2 separate regions of the Homo sapiens genome follow, and region 1 is linked to region 2. Evidence: promoter capture Hi-C in human tissues and cell types (Jung and others, 2019). All regions are on one chromosome and are shown on one strand. The core of a region is centred on a gene start or on the middle of the fragment in contact, and the rest is flanking DNA. Distances in the headings are between cores, read along the strand shown. Region 1 overlaps CLCA4-AS1 (CLCA4 antisense RNA 1). Region 2 holds the start of CLCA1 (chloride channel accessory 1).

Region 1 (2,700 bases), core at 136-2,635, 150 kb before region 2:
CCATTCAGTACTATGTTGGCTGTGGGTTTGTCTTAGATGGCTTTTATTGCATTGAGGTATGCCCCTTGTATGCTGATTTTGCTGAGAGTTTTAATGATAAAGGAATGCTGGATTTTGTCAAATGCTTTTTCTGTGTCTATTGAGTAATCATGTGATTTTTGTTTTTAATTCTGTTTATGTGGTGTATCACATTGATTGACTTGCATATATTAAACCATCCCTGCATCCCTGGTATGAAACCCACTTGATCATGGTGGATTATCTTTTTGATATGTTGTTGGATTCAGTTAGCTAGTATTTTGTTAAGGATTTTTGCATCTATGTTCATCAGGGATATTGATCTGTAGTTTCCTCTTTTGGTTATGTTCTTTCTTGGTTTTGGTACTAGGAAGATACTGGCTTCATAGAATGCTGAAGTCTTCAACTACCAGGGTGAGTAGGAAGGACCATCAGGTGGGGGCAGAGCTAGGTGTGTCTGAGCTCAGACTCTCCTTGGGTGGCTATTGCTGTGGCTGCTGTGGGGGATGGAATTGTGGTTCCCAGGTCAATGGAATGATGTTCCTAGGAGGATTATGCCTGCCTCTGCTGTGTCATTCAGGTTGTCAGAGAAGTAGGGGAAAGCCAGCAGTCACAGGCTTCACCCAGCTCCCAAGCAACCCAGAAGGCTGGTCTCACTTCCATCATGCCCCCAGCCCCCGAAAGACACCAACTCTGTTTCCAGACAGTGGAAGAGCAGGGCTGAGAACTTGCCCCAGGTTACTAGCCTCCCACGTGTGAAAGCAAGCAGGGCTTTCATGCCTTCCCACCTGAGGAGTCTGCATACTGGATTCATGCCCTCCCCAGAGTTCTGGCCAGAAAACTTTGTGTTTGGTTGGAATTGTTACAAAGTTCAGCAGGAGATTTCCTTCTCTTTGTGGTCTTTTCCCAGTACCTCTGGCAGCCCTCTCCAAGGACCTCTGTGGACAAGACAGAAATGGCTCTCTAGGGGACCTAGAGAGCCTAAAGGGCTTCTCCTGCTGCTTCCTCTACCTCTGTATTTAGCTTGACTCTCTAAATTAACTCAGCTCCAGGTAAGGCAAGAATCTTCTCCTGTGATCCAGACCTTCAGGTTCCCTAGTGAGGGTGTGTGTTCGCAGATGGACAATCCTCCTTTCCCACTTCCACAGCTTGGGCACTCACTGTATTTGGGGTGTCTCCTTGCTCCTACAGGAGCAGTCTGCTTCCTTCAGAGGGTCTGTGGGTTCTCTCAACTTTTCTGGTTTATTCCTGCAGTAGTTTTGGAGCAAAAGTTCACAATGCAAGTCTCCACACACTGTTCTGTCTGTGTGGGAGCTGCAATCTAGTCCTGCCTCCTGTCCACCATGATCTATTAGTTTTTCCTCTTGTAGCTTACTAAGCTTTTTAAAGATAATTATTTTGAATTCTTTTTAGGCAATTCATATATCTCTATTTCTTTGGGGTCAGCCACTGGAGCTTTATTATTATTATTTTGGTGGTATATTTCCTTGATTTTTTATGTTCTTTGAAGCCTTGCCTTGTTGCCTTCTCATTTGAAGAAGGAGTAAACTTCTCAAGTCTTCGATTACTGGCATTGCGAGAGAACAATCTTCACCATTCAGCCTGGCTAGAGATCTGGAGGTGTCTCAGATCATTTCAGTTGATGTATCCCCTTACTGTTCTTATTCCCTCTTGGGGGATAGTGTCAGGATTGTATGCCTTCCCTTGATCCCATAAAACCAGGCCAGGTAGTGAGAACTTTCCATTTACTTCTCCTAGTGTAATGCCAAAGGTTCTTGCCTTAGCCATGCCAAAGAATTGGTGTGGCAGCTGCCCGCAGCGAGTGATAGAGACATGGACCGAAAGAGAGAAAAAGACATAGGCTTTATTGGGCAGAGTGAAAATACAAAGCTTCCACAGTGTGGAAGGGGTCCCAAACAGGTAGCCAGAGTTAGATTATGCAGTTGCCTTTTCAACTCTTTAAGGTGGGAAATACATGCGGAGGGAAGATGTTACCAGAGTGAGAAACAAAGGCAGTAAATTATTTTGTGACATGTCTTAGATTTTGAGGAAAACCGGAATTGCAGCTTAGGTTTTATCTACTTTATGACCTTGCAGTGGCATGGCAAAGGAGACAGGATTTTATAGGATTTTACAAAGTATGTTTACAAGGAATTGGAATTGGGAGCATAGATAAAGTCTGCTGGTCACAGAAAAATGGGCAGTCAACATTCTTTTTAGTTTTGGGGGAAGGGGAAGGAAGAGAGGGAGAGAGGACACAGGGATGCTTACAGCAAAATTTTCATTGTTTATAGCTTTCTTGGGGAAGAAAACACACGCACAAATCTGGGTGTTAGGAATATTTTAAGCATATATCTTCAATATTATTCATCCAGGACCGAAGTAAGTCCTGATGCAGGAATGAGTGAGTTTCACAGCTTTCTGAGCCCCTACTTGACCCAGGAAGCCCAGCTGGCACCTCCTCTCACTAGGGCTGTGATCTGGAGTGATCAAAGTTGTGCACCTTCTCCCCGTTTAGCAGAGTTGAGCTATCTGTTGATATCTGTGCACTGTCTTTGCAGGCTCATGTTTGCCATCTTCAGGGGAGCACATGTACTGTCTTCAGGGGAACCTGGGGTGCCATCTGTGGAGGAGTGCAAGGTGCTGATGATGGTGGTGGTGGTGGGAGTATGTGCATGGAGT
Region 2 (2,773 bases), core at 58-2,557:
CTGCAATTCTCTAACCACACACTGTAGAGATGGTTTTCTTTCCAAACATTATCTTTCTATATTTGCCTCTGCTTAGAGCAGTGGATCTCTGGGGAAATCCCTCTGGGCCCTTGTTCTATTAATTTTCCATCTAGAGAGAGCCAATGACTATATCCACCATTTATTGAGCTCTTACTATGTACCAGGCACTATGCATGCATTTTTAAAGTTATTTTTTAAAGTTCTGAGATAAATTTAGATGAACAGAAGACATGCAAAGTATTGCACCGTATTCTTACATACTCCACCCAGCTTCCCTTTATATGCATGCATTTTAAACTTTGATCCTCACAAAATCTGATAAGGGAGATATTTATTATTATTATTCCCATTTTACAGACTAATACTGTTACTAGTACAGCACTGCCTCTGGATGTGTTACAGCCAGATTCCAGGGCGGTCTTTTATAAAGCATTTCCCTCTTAGTTTTAGCTGTTTGTTGTTGTACAAGACCTTCTTCAATGGTATAGATACCCCTGCCAGGACAGGAAGTCTTCTTCCTTTCCCTTCTGCTACATAAGAGGTAGCAAGAAATCTCTGAAAGGATCCCTTGAATTGGGACTGATAAAATGCAAGGTTTTCTCCCATCAGAAGGTCAGGGTTGTTCTTATATCAGAGATTTGCATCTGGGGCTCCTTTTAGGATCACAGGGAAGGGGGTTCCTATTAGGAGAATAAAAGGAGAGTCTGACTCGTGCCAAGGGTAAAATCAGGCAAAGGATCTGTGCATCTCACAATATCTGTCAAATGTAGCTGACTCTGCCTTACTATAGAACTAAATAATTTTCAGTGACATAATCCACAGCAGTACATATCAATTTATCATTTATCAGTTGCCAACAGTATATCACTCTGAGTTATGTGCATTGCATTCATTATCTTATCTGACACAAGAATCCTAATGGTTAACTTGTTATTATTTCCATTTTACAGATGAAGAAACTGAGACTTAGACATAAAAATACATGCCAGTGTCGTGCAGCTGGAATAGGGCACTCATGTTCTCTCTATCACAACATTATGCTATTTTTAAAAAAGTATGGATAATTACTATGAACTTACCTTTATTTGTTGAATGAGTGTTTCATCTTCTGGCACATTGGGGTCGATTGCAACGACAATGCCTTCATAGCCATTGTTGTTCAGCTGAATGAGTGAATTACTCAGGGCCCCTTCTAGAAGGTGAAGAATCAAGATGAACACAGAACTCTTAAATGGCCCCATTGCTGTACATCTCCCTGTGATTTCTCTCTTTGGAAAATGCGGGTTACGAAGGTGTCTTTCTTTACCATTATATATATACAGATATGAAAATATAGACACACGTTTCCAACTTATCGGAAGTGGTTTATCACAGGTCTTTAACCCCCTGACCTGATGTGTTTTACTATTGCTCTTGTCTTCAATAGGAGAATGATAACAATATCTTAGTCTCAAATTGCGTACTTGTAAATATTTCCATCTGCCTTCAGCTGTGCCAGATGCTGGGGTAAGGGTGGGGGAGCCCACATCCGGTTCCTTGGAAGCACTCACAGGTGACAAGCAGCTTGGCCGCTGATAGGTTTGTTTACTTCTTGGAAATGTTTACCAAGCCATGGACACCAACCCACCCAAAGCCCCCAACCCCCTCCTGCCCAGGAAAATCCAGACTGTTCTGCTTATTCAGTAAACATTTTGTAAGCCATATATTCAGTTATCCCTCATGGTGGTCTTTACCACAATGGTGGTTTTGTTTACCTTGACATAACCTCAACACCTCTTCATGCTCCCCTTAAACAAGAAAATATTCAATTATATTCCACATCCATTTGTACCAAAAGCATTAGCAAGTGATGTAGATATTATTGACTATTTTATAATGGAGAGTAAAGATAAAATGTATATCTTACTTTGCAAAGCATACTCCAAGTTCCTCATCAGATTTCTGCTTTCTCTATTGCATAGCTCCTACCAGTCAATAAAATTCCAATTAACATCATTAAATTATTTTGCTGAAACTAAATGTCCCTAGGAACATGAATTATGGGCTGTCAGTGGCTGTGTATATTCTTTCAATTTGCCAAACCTCAGGTGGAACCTCAAATTGGCCCCCCATTTTCTTGTATTGAAATACTTGAAATATCTCTTCGTTCATAAATTCATTTGGTCTTCAGATGGTGATAAGCATTAATTTCATCTTGTCCATATGAACTTTAAAGTAGTTTTTTCCAATTCTGTGAAGAAAGGCATTGGTAGCTTGATGGAGATGGCATTGAATCTGTAAATTACCTTGGGCAGTATGGCCATTTTCACGATATTGATTCTTCCTATCCATGAGCATGAAATGTTCTTCCATTTGTTTGTATCCTCTTTTATTTCCTTGAGCAGTGGTTTGTAGTTCTCCTTGAAGAGGTCCTTCACGTCCCTTGTAAGTTGGATTCCTAGGTATTTTATTCTCTTTGAAGCAATTGTGAATGGGAGTTCACTCATGATTTGGCTCTCTGTTTGTCTGTTGTTGGTGTATAAGAATGCTTGTGATTTTTGTACATTGATTTTGTATCCTGAGACTTTGCTGAAGTTGCTTATCAGCTTAAGGAGATTTTGGGCTGAGACAATGGGGTTTTCTAGATATACAATCATGTCATCTGCAAACAGGGACAATTTGACTTCCTCTTTTCCTAATTGAATACCCTTTATATCTAGCATAATCTTAAGCAGTTAAAAGGGAAACACTGAAATAGAGTGGAAATGCTCAA

Evidence for each region. The method cuts DNA at HindIII sites, captures the fragments that hold promoters and counts their contacts. A contact is called where the count stands out against the background at its distance.
Region 1: a fragment that was not itself captured here is called in contact with the fragment with the promoter of CLCA1 in region 2 in 2 of the 25 tissues and cell types used here (ovary and pancreas).

What each region holds. Positions count from the first base shown.
Region 1 is chr1:86,621,390-86,624,089 of GRCh38, reverse strand. The region is part of intron 4 of CLCA4-AS1 (CLCA4 antisense RNA 1); the gene reads left to right. Among named protein-coding and RNA genes, the nearest start is that of CLCA4, 76 kb to the right of the region's middle. The HindIII fragment of the contact is 3,991 bases long and covers 1-2,700 here.
Region 2 is chr1:86,467,461-86,470,233 of GRCh38, reverse strand. CLCA1 (chloride channel accessory 1) reads right to left here and starts at 1,307. Exons shown (of 14, transcript NM_001285.4): 1 at 1,101-1,307. The coding sequence starts at 1,262. The HindIII fragment of the contact is 10,852 bases long and covers 1-2,773 here.